Regions from separate parts of the Homo sapiens genome. Here region 1 is linked to region 2. The links are contacts of gene promoters, found by promoter capture Hi-C in blood cells and fetal thymus (Javierre and others, 2016). All regions are on one chromosome and are shown on one strand. Each heading gives the region's core, a stretch centred on a gene start or on the middle of the fragment in contact. The rest is flanking DNA. Distances are from core to core; before and after follow the strand shown.

Region 1 (4,950 bases), core at 118-2,617, 38 kb before region 2:
TTTTCTCCAAGTTTATTCTAATATTCACAAAGACTTTTTATAATACAAAAAATACAGATTTGATTAACACAGAGTTAATTCTCATTTTTCAATATTGAAAGCTTAAGCTCAAGGTCATATAGCCAGTAAATGGCAGAGTTAGCATTAAAAACTAGGTCTGTCCTACTCCAAGCCTACTTGGAGACATAAAAATTATTCCACCCCTTAACCAATAATCAGATTTTAATGAAAACAATAACAACATTTCAAGTAAAAGTCTTAGGAATTAAAATTTTCATAGCTAAAATAAAAAAATTAATAGAAGACTTAGAATACAAAGTTGAAACTCAGTAGAACAAAAAGAAAACGGCAGAAACAATTAGTTGCCTAAGCTTCGTTAGCAGCAGGACCCAGATTTTATTCAGGGTAGAAATATGCTCAGCTGAAAGACTACATGTGCAGCTTTCTTTTCAGCCAGGTGTAACAAAATTATGACCAATGAGATTCAGGGAAAACTGTTAAGTGGGACTTCTTGGAAAATTCCTTAAAAGGAGAACAGCCTGGGCAACATACCAGAACCATCTCTACAAAAAAGACCACAAAAATTAGACAGGTATGGCAGCACATGCCTGTAGTCCCAGCTACCAGGCAGGCTGAGGTGGGAGGATCACTTAAGCCCAGGAAGTCAAGGCTGCAGTGAGCCAACATCGTGCCACTGCACTCCAGCCTGGGAAACAGAGTGAGACCCTGTCTCAAAAAAAGAGGAAGAGGAAGAAGAGGAAGAAGAAGAAGGAGGAGAAGGAGAAGAGAGGAAGAGGAGGAAAAAGGAAGAAGAAAGAGGAAAGAGGAGGAAGAGGAGGAGGAGGATGAAGTAGAGAAGGAGGAGGACGAGGAAGAGAAGGAAGAGGAGGAAGATGAAGTAGAGAAGGAGGAGGAGGAGAAGGTGGTGGAGAAGGAGGTGCGGGAGGAGGAGGAGGAGGAGGAGGAGAAGGAGACAGGAAATAGAGTACTCCCTTTTGACCTTCATCCTTTCTTCTTTCTTGCTATCCAGAATGTGGAGATGAGGGCTAAAACTCCAGCAGCTATTCAGGGCCATGAGGCAAACTTGAGAACAGATGCCATCTATGTACAAAGAATAACAGAGTAGACCGGGCGTGGTGACTCACACCTGTAATCCCAGCACTTTGGGAGGCTGAGGCAGGCAGATCACCTGAGGTCAGGAGTTCAAGACCAGCCTGGCCAACATGGTGAAAACCCATCTCTACTAAAAACACAAAAATTAGTGGGGTATGGCGGTGGGTGCCTGTAATCCCAGCTACTTGGGAGGCTGAGGCAGGGAGAATTGCTTGAACCTGGGAGGCAGAGGTTGCAGTGAGCTGAGATCATGCCACTGCACTCCAGCCTGGGTGACAGAATAAGACTCCATCTCAAAAAAAAAAAAAAAAAAAAAAAGAACAGAGTAAAAAAAAAAGAGAAGAAGGTGTCGAAGGTGTCTTAGTCCCTGTTAATTCTATAGCTGCCATTACCAGACACCCCTGCACTTTAAACCTGTATATTATTTTGGGTTTTCTATCACATGCATTTAAGCCTTCTCTTAACTAATGAGAAAAGATTCTTAGACATTAGAGCATTATTTCAAAAAATCCAATGTCTATCAGAGGGATTCTAGAACAATAGAAAGATAAAATGGGAGGGGACAAAATTATCTAAGAAATAAAACAATAAAAGTTCTCAGGATGAAAGAAATATGTTTACAGAATAAAAGCATCAACTGAATGCCCAGAAAAATGAATGAAGGCACATAATTCAAGGCACATCTGTAAAATTTTGGAGCACCAGAGATAAAGACAGGACCCTAAAACCATTCGGACAGAAAGAAGAAAAAGAAAAAAAGAAAAATGGCTGGGCACAGTGGCTCATGCTTGTAATCACAGCACTTCAGGAGGCCAAGGCGGACAGATCACTTGAGGCCAAGAGTTCGAGACCAGCCTAGTCAACATGGCGAAACCCTGTCTCTATTAAAAGTACAAAAATTAGCCGGGTATGTGGCACATGCCTGTAATCCCAGCTACTCGGGAGGCTGAGGCACAGGAAGTGCTTAAGCCCAGGAGGCAGAGGTTGCAGCAGTGAGCCAAGATCATGCCACTGCACTCCAGCCAGGGAGGCAGGGTGAAACTGTCTCAAAACAAAATGAAACAAAAAAAAAATAAGAAAGAAAAGTAAAAATGATTACATATGTCAGATGAAGATCATCAATGGCATCATACTTTTCAGTAGCAATACTGGATGCCAGAGGAATATGAAACAATTAATACAAAATTCTGAATTCTGAACCCAGAATTCTATAACCAATCAAACTGTAAATCATGCATGACTTTAAAAGATAAGCTTTTCATACTATCATACTTGTCCTTAAAAAATAATAAAATAAATAAAAATGAGTAAAAAATAAACTTTTCAGATAATTAAAAAATTTTACCTCTCATACACCCATTCTTAAGGAAGCTATTCAAAGGTGTATTATAGCAAGACGAGGGAGTAAATCAAGAAAGAAAAAGACATAAGCTTCAGGAAATCAGAGATTTAGCCCTAGAAAGTAATATTCTATGCACACATCACAGTTTTTAATGTTAACAAAGGTGAAACACATAACATACACCCTTACAAAAAAGGTCAAAATGTAAAATTAAAACTTTAAACTCTTAAAAACTACAAAAAAGTTTGTGTTGGCTACCATTTGTACAACATATTTAAACATTTTCATTTTGTGGCAGCACATGAAAAAAGTGATAGTAGAAAATAAAGTCATTGGGGGTTTTCAAATAGCAGAATTGGCAGTTTTGCCATGTAGGAGAAGCAAATAAATATTAGTTTCCCCAAAATTCACATTTGAAAATATTTAGATAAAAGTCACAGAATTTTTCTCAGTAGAGACCCCAATAATTAGCTGCTGTAGGTTACCTGTTTGAAAGGACAATATCTCTTTAGAGTATAACTTTACTAATTTGGGTATAGAGAAGAAGTCTTAGGAATAAGAACATGATCTTAAAGGAGAGAAGAGGAACAGAGGAAGACATAAAAGCAAGAAAAATGTCATGGTAATTGCAATCACTAAAAAACTGTATTCTCAGTCAGTGCAGAATACTGTCTTCTGTCTACAACAGGTGCTTATTCCCGAACTGTTATTGCATCATGGATTTAATTTGCTTGGAGTTAGTCTGATCATTCAAATGTTTTATTGTGTACCGGAGAGCATTTAGAAGATATTTTACACTATTAGGAGGTTGGTCCTTAAGAACTCTGATACAGGCCAGTTGTGGTAGCTCATGTCTATAATCCCAGAACCATGGGAGGCCAAGGCAGGAGGACTGCTTGACCTCAGGAGTTGGAGACCAGCCTAGGAAACATAGCCCATCTCTATAAAAAATTTTTTAAAGTAGCCAGGCATAGTGGTGTATGCCTAGTCCCATCTACTCAGAATGCTAAGGTGGGAGAATCACTTAAGCCTGGGAAGTCAAGGCTTCAGTGAGCCGTGATCATGCCACTGCACTCCAGCCTGGGCAACAGAGCAAGACCCTATCTCAAAAAATAAAATAAATAAAAAATCAGGAAGATATGTTACCTTTGTCCACCAGATTGGGCTTTAAAAAAAAGAACTTGGTACAACCTTTCATACCAAGTTTGGAAGTTTTGGCAAATGCTCCCACTGAATATACTTAATCATAGAGTCTTATGATACCTACTGTATTAGTCCATTCTCAAATTACTATAAAGAACTACCTGAAACTGGGTAATTTATGAAGAAAAGAGGTTTAAATAGGCTCAAAGTTCCACAGGTTGTACAGGAAGCATGGCTGGGAGGCCTCAGGAAACTTAACAATCATGGCATAAGGCAAAGAGGAAGTAAGCATGTCTTCAAATGATGGTAAGACAGAGAGAGTGTGAAGGGGGAAGTGCTACACACTTTTAAACAACAAAATCTCATGAGAATTCACTCACAAGACAGCACTAGGAGGATGGTGTTAAACCATTAGAAACCACCCCCGATGATCTAATCACTTCCCATCAGGACCCACCTCCAACACTTGGGATCACAATTCAACAAGGGATTTGGGTGGCAATACAGAGCCAAACCATATCATTCTGCTCTTAACCCCTCCCAAATCTCATGTCCTTCTCATATTTCAAAACCAATTATGCCTTCCCAACAGTCCCCAAAGTCTTAACTCATTCCAGCATTAACTCAAAAGTTTCTTTACTGGAAGACTTTTTATTATGGCTTCAATCTCATCCCTTGTTATTGGTCTGTTCAGGTTTTGGATTTCTTCATGGTTCAATCTTGATAGGTTGTATGTGTCTAGGAACTTATCCATGTATTCTTGATTGTCCAATTTATTGACATATAGTTGCTCATACTAGCCTCTAATGATCTTTTGAATTTCTGCAGCATCAGTTGTAATGTCTCATTTTTCATCTCTGAGTTTTTTTATTCAGGTCTTCTCTTTTTTTCTTAATCTGGCTAGAGGTTTGTAAATTTTGTTTATCTTTAAAAAAAAAAAGACAACTTTTCTGGCTGGGCACGGTGGCTCATGCCTGCAATCCTAGCACTTTGGGAGTCCAAGGCGAGCAGATCACAAGGTCAGGAGTTCAAGACCAGCCTGGCCAACATGGTGAAATCTTGTCTCTACTAAAAAAAATACAAAAATTAGCTGAGCGTGGTGGTGCGTGCCTGTAATCCTAGCTACTCAGGAGGCTGAGACAGAAGAATTGCTTGAACCCAGGAGGCAGAGGTTGCAGTGAGCTGAGATCACACCATTGCACTCCAACCTGGTTGACAGAGCAAGACTCTGTCTCAAAAAAAAAAAAATCAACTTTTCATTTCACTGTTTTTTTTTGTTTTGTTTTGTTTCTTTCCATTTCATTTATTTCTGCTCTGATCTTTATTATTTATTTTCTTCTACTAATTTTGCA
Region 2 (5,187 bases), core at 1,847-4,346:
AATAGCTATAAATTTACAAAAGTTTGTATCTAGTAAATCCAACATCTGGGCTTACAACAACTGCAACTGCACAGTTTTAGGTCAGTTGGGGGGGCAGTCTCTGATTTCCTATCTTTTGTCCACCCCTACTTCTGTAGACATCCTCCCCGCCACTTCCACTCCCCCTTTCCCTCTTCCACCCATTCAACTGAGCACAAAATGGCCAGACTTCCACAGAGCCAAAAGATGATTATTGAGGATGCTTTCAACTTGGTGGAGTCCATTTCAAAGACACTTTCTATTGAAACCTTTTTCTTGTGTTTGGGTCATACTTTATTTCTTTTCATCTTTCATAATTTTTATTAAAAACTGTACATATATGTGTCAACTCTGGAAATCAGATTTCTACATACACCCAAAGTTTCTCATTCCTGCTGTTGTTGTTTGTTTCAGGACTTCTCTGAACCAATTCTGTAGTCTGTATTCTTTGTCACATGTGGCCACTGGAGTCACTGCAGTCTCTGGTTTGCTTAGTGGTCAGCTAATAACTAGACAGACATATCTTTGGATGACTGGAACTAACAAGTCTCCCAGTCTTTGCCAAAGGACTGTCTATGAGTATTAAGGCATGCCTTCAATGCTCGGGCAGGCAATTTACAACTCCATCTTAGCCTCTACTTCTTTCTTAAACAGAGTCTCAAGGTAAGTCATAGGTGAGAGGCATTTGCAGGTCTTTCCTGGGCATATACATAGCTCTATGCATGCACTTGGCCTTCTAGATTCCCAGGAATATGTCAGGAGCTTTCCAAAGCCCCCTATGGACATATCACTTCCCAACTGATCCTTTTAAGATTTTCGGTCAGCTTGTTGTTTGCCTCCCAACTGTATCACTGCCTGCCTGTTTCATGCTGTTATAACAGAATACCTGAGACTCGGTAATTCATAAGGAATAGAAATTTATTGGCTTATGGTTCTGGAGGCTGAGAAAGCTAGTATCGAGGTGCCAGCATCTGGCAGGGGCCTTCTTGCCGCATCATAACATGATGGAAGGCATTACATGGCAAAAGGGCAAAGAGAGGGCAACAGGCGCACGCACACACACACACACACACACACACACACACACACACCACACAGAGACAGAGAGAGAGAGAGAGAAAGAAGAGGGCCAACTTTCCCACTTTTATAATGAACCCATTCCCCAGATAATGGCATTAATCCCTTTACTCTGCCCTCATGGCCTATCACCTCTCATTAGTCCCTACCTTCCAACATTTTTACATTGGGGATTAAGTTCCCACACATGCCTCTGATAGCTGTGATATTTAAAATTGCCACTGAACATTTGACAAACATACTTGGTGAGTTTGAAGTCAGACTAAATAACAATAAGCCTCATGAGTGAGATTTTCCAAGGAACTATCAAACATGTCGAATAATAACAGTTGTCTGGCTTTGGAGTGGGTCAAATTCTGTTTTGTCCCCTCTACCAGTTGCTAAGTCACTATTTTTCACTGTGATTACTGTGGTTATCTAGGCTGACACGGGGCTGGGAGAAAAGTATAGGACTATGGCAAGTTAAAATGCCAAAAACCTTGCTGTTGTTACAAAAATCCAGCTGTTTTTCTTTAGTAAACACTCTACAAATTGTTGCAAGCCTTTGGTTAATTTCCAGAGTTCTGAAAAAGTCGATATTGATGATTTTTGCCACTGTTCTTGTTGATTTTATGGAGGAGAGGATTTCAGGCATAGATCCTATTTCACCATTCTGGCTGATGTCATCCCACTAAATCTTTATAAATTATTTATTTTACTAATAGCTGCACACATCTCTGAACCTCTCTCCAACTTAGCCTTCCCCTAAAAATGGAGATTAAAATTTAGCAGTGAGGCTCAGGTGGAAGCTTTTGAGCTAGTTGCCACAAAACATTATTTAACAACTATTAGGTAAATCTAAACCAGGTAGTGCAGAAATGCATATGCAGGAAAGTGAATGTGTGGGACTAATTGTGCTTTTCCAAAACTGGCCATGTTGGTACTGTTTCTTTCCTTTTACATGGCAAAAGTCCGCTGCTAACCTCATAAAACCTCCACTGCATAAATATCCACTAGTGAAGAATGACTGGCTGTCACTCTGCATCTGGTGCAGGGGGCACTATTGCTACAGAAGCTCGGGCAATGACATGAAGATACTTCAAATTGCCAAAGTTCTAGTTGTCACCATGACAACATTAATTGCTAATTTACAGACGTAAGAAACTGTTGTAGCTAGAATTGATAGAGTTCTTTAGAAGTCTATTTCTATTCCAAAATCAAATTGTTATAACAGGTCACCTGAATTACAGTACTTTATGTCACACGATTTTTTTTTAACTCTCTAAAAGCATTTGACTTAGAGAGAGACCTTATATTTACTTTAGAGAGGAGGAAATGGAGATATTTCCTTCAGAGACTTTTAGTAAAGACCAATCAGCAGGTTTGCAGAAGAGCCAAGCCTCTAAAGAGGTGACTTATATTTCCAAGAGATATTCCAATTCAATCAGTGAATAACAAACTTTAAGCGTGCGGGAAATTTAACAAAACCCAGACTCTCAGAGCTGCAACTGCGCAGTTTTAGGTCAGCTGGGGCTGGGGGTGGGGGTCTCTGATTTCCTATCTTTTCTCCACCCCTATTTCTGTAAACATTCTCCCACCCACTTCCACTCCCCGTTTCCCTCCTTCACCCATTCACCTGAGGGCAAGACGGCCTAACTTCACACAGAGCCCAAAGATGCTTATTGAGGATGCTTTCGACCTGGTGGAGTCCATTTCAAAAGGCAACTGAAGCCCTCATTCGGCATCCTCGCCTCTCACTCCATGCCGGGGGTCCAGAAACAATCCCTGTCCCTGGATAGGTCAGTTTAGCTCACCTGTACTTTCCTTCGCCCGTCCACAGCGCCGTCCAAACCGTACCAGCATCTCTGACGAGGTGTCCATGATGCTCCTAGATCTGGAAAAGTGACTGTGGCGCCAAGCGCCGCGGACGCCAGCCGGTGGAGTTGTTACTCGTACCACGCGGTTGCTTGGCAACGCCGCCGGAAGTGACGCCAGCCGTAGCCGAGGAACAAGGGAGGTGCTGCAGTTGGCGGTCGGGCTAGAGAAGAGAGGCGCCTGCGCTTGCGAGCTGGGCTTGTGAGTGGGGCTGCCGAGAGGGCAGGCGTGGGGCGAGGCCAAAGGACTGAACCCGCAGGAGCGTCACGGGCGCCGGGGCGGCTGCCGACGGCGGGACTGGGTCAGTGAGAAGCCCGTGGGCCCCCGCCCTGCCTGCTACTCCCATCCCCACCTGCGCGCTCCCCATGGGGGACGACCCCCGATTGGGTCCGATGCCTACCCTCGGGGTGGAGCCGGCAGGTGTGTGAGCGCGCGAGGCCTAGGCGTGGTGTGTGCGTCCGCAGATCTCCTCGCGGGTGGAGTGTGAGGAGCAAAGCCCTCCCTTAACTATAAAAACCCGCGGATTCGCTGACATAAACGCTGTTTTTTTAATCCTTTGGTTTCTGAGGCATGGTCAGGACTAGATGGGGCCAAGTTTTTTAAAAATAGGAATGTTAAAACGTAATGATATGCTTAGAATATTTACGTTAGGACCTTTGAGATATTTTAAATTTCTTGGTAAATACATGACCACAGAAATCTGTTAGGAGTAGCTGCGCGTTTGGTTTCAAAAGATGCTTTTCTAACACATTGATGTACAGATAACTTCATTACTAACAAGTTGGCTCTGACGTGTACACATAATGCACCAAATTGGAGTCTCTCAAAATGAAAGAACAAAAAGATTTTTAATAACGAATGTTCTAACACATAGTCGTGCTATTTTTCTTTAGGTTTTCTATCAGATGTTCCACGTAATAATGCTGGTAAGTATGGAATAATTAAGAAAATATTTGAAGACAGAAATTAGTTTGTGCACATACAGCGCTGGTAGGTTTTTGGAACTATACCTTAAAAAGTGTCAAGAACTGGGGGCCAGGCGCGGTGGCTCACGCCTGTAATCCCAGCACTTTGGGAGGCCGAGGCGGGCGGATCACGAGGTCAGGAGATCGAGACCATCCTGGCTAACACGGTGAAACCCTGTCTCTAGCAAAAATACAAAAAAATTAGCCAGGCGTGGTGGCGGGCGCCTGTAGTTCCAGGTACTCTGGAGGCTGAGGCAGGAGAATGGCGTGAACCTGGGAGGCGGAGCTTGCAGTGAGCCGACCATCGTGCCACTGCACTCCAGCCTGGGCGACAGAGCGAGACTCCGTCTCAAAAAAAAAAAAAGTTTCAAGAACTGGGAAGGAACAGAGATTTTTACCCTGTTTGCAGGCTAACTTAGCCTGGCAGTTTCATGGAAGACACAAGACTATTCATTTCAGGAATGAATTACTCCCAGCAGTAGCCAGTAAATCAGCAATTTCGCCTGAGTTCCCTAAAGCCCCAGTTCCCACAGGATAATGCAAAGTGGGCAAGAAGTCACCTAGATGTAGTGTGTGTCGAATTACAGGAAAGGAGCCCTGAGCTTAGGGAACCCAGATCTTTATCATTTGGACAAATAAGCATGTTTCTCAAGGCTGTCCAGTGTACAAACATCCTTGAGACAATAGTCTAGAGGAAAGGGCAGTCAGTAAGACATGCAGAACCACCAGAGACGCAGGGAAAATTGTCTCCCAACAACAATTTTCTGGAATTTTAACAAAATTGGTTACAAAAGTATTGAATCTCATGATTTGATGTCAGTTACTTGCCAATTTGACATGGTGGTCAGATATAATTTGACTTCAGACTCGAGATTCCAGCTCCAACCTGTGGATTGTCACAACCAAGTCAATCTAGAGTTATTTGTCCTATACCCACCACTCTTTTATTTCTTTGTTGTGAATTTAATAAGGTAGCATATGCACTCTGATCTGAAACAGAGTTTAAATTATTCTGAGAAGAAAAAAATTTTATTACAAAATTGATGTAGAAAAAGTGTGAACTACGGTTGAACCAACCATAACCATCCCACTGCACATGTAAACATTTTCTAAAACAAAAACAGGATTATACTGTACACACTATTTTGTGACTTGCTTATTTAATTTGAACTGAATATCTTGGCTTTTACTGGCTGGATATTCTGTTATTTGCTATCACATGCATATCTTACTTAATTATTTCCCAATTCTTGGATGTCTGTGTAGTTTTTAA

Evidence for each region. Contacts are between HindIII fragments. The CHiCAGO score rates a contact against its expected background, and 5 or more counts as called.
Region 1: a fragment that was not itself captured here is called in contact with the fragment with the promoter of PHOSPHO2 in region 2 in 1 of 17 cell types (total B cells); the score reaches 6.2 in total B cells.

The regions. Positions count from the first base shown.
Region 1 is chr2:169,655,557-169,660,506 of GRCh38, forward strand. The region is part of intron 5 of CFAP210 (cilia and flagella associated protein 210); the gene reads right to left. It also overlaps the pseudogene LOC100421474. Among named protein-coding and RNA genes, the nearest start is that of CFAP210, 36 kb to the right of the region's middle. The HindIII fragment of the contact is 1,996 bases long and covers 370-2,365 here.
Region 2 is chr2:169,691,373-169,696,559 of GRCh38, forward strand. PHOSPHO2 (phosphatase, orphan 2) reads left to right here and starts at 3,097. Exons shown (of 4, transcript NM_001008489.4): 1 at 3,097-3,250; 2 at 3,843-3,875. CFAP210 (cilia and flagella associated protein 210) reads right to left here and starts at 3,033. Exons shown (of 9, transcript NM_001085447.2): 1 at 2,889-3,033. The coding sequence starts at 2,955. PHOSPHO2-KLHL23 (PHOSPHO2-KLHL23 readthrough) reads left to right here and starts at 3,097. Exons shown (of 5, transcript NR_144936.2): 1 at 3,097-3,250; 2 at 3,843-3,875. RefSeq lists an enhancer at 2,816-2,995 and a silencer at 3,126-3,405. The HindIII fragment of the contact is 4,078 bases long and covers 1,882-5,187 here.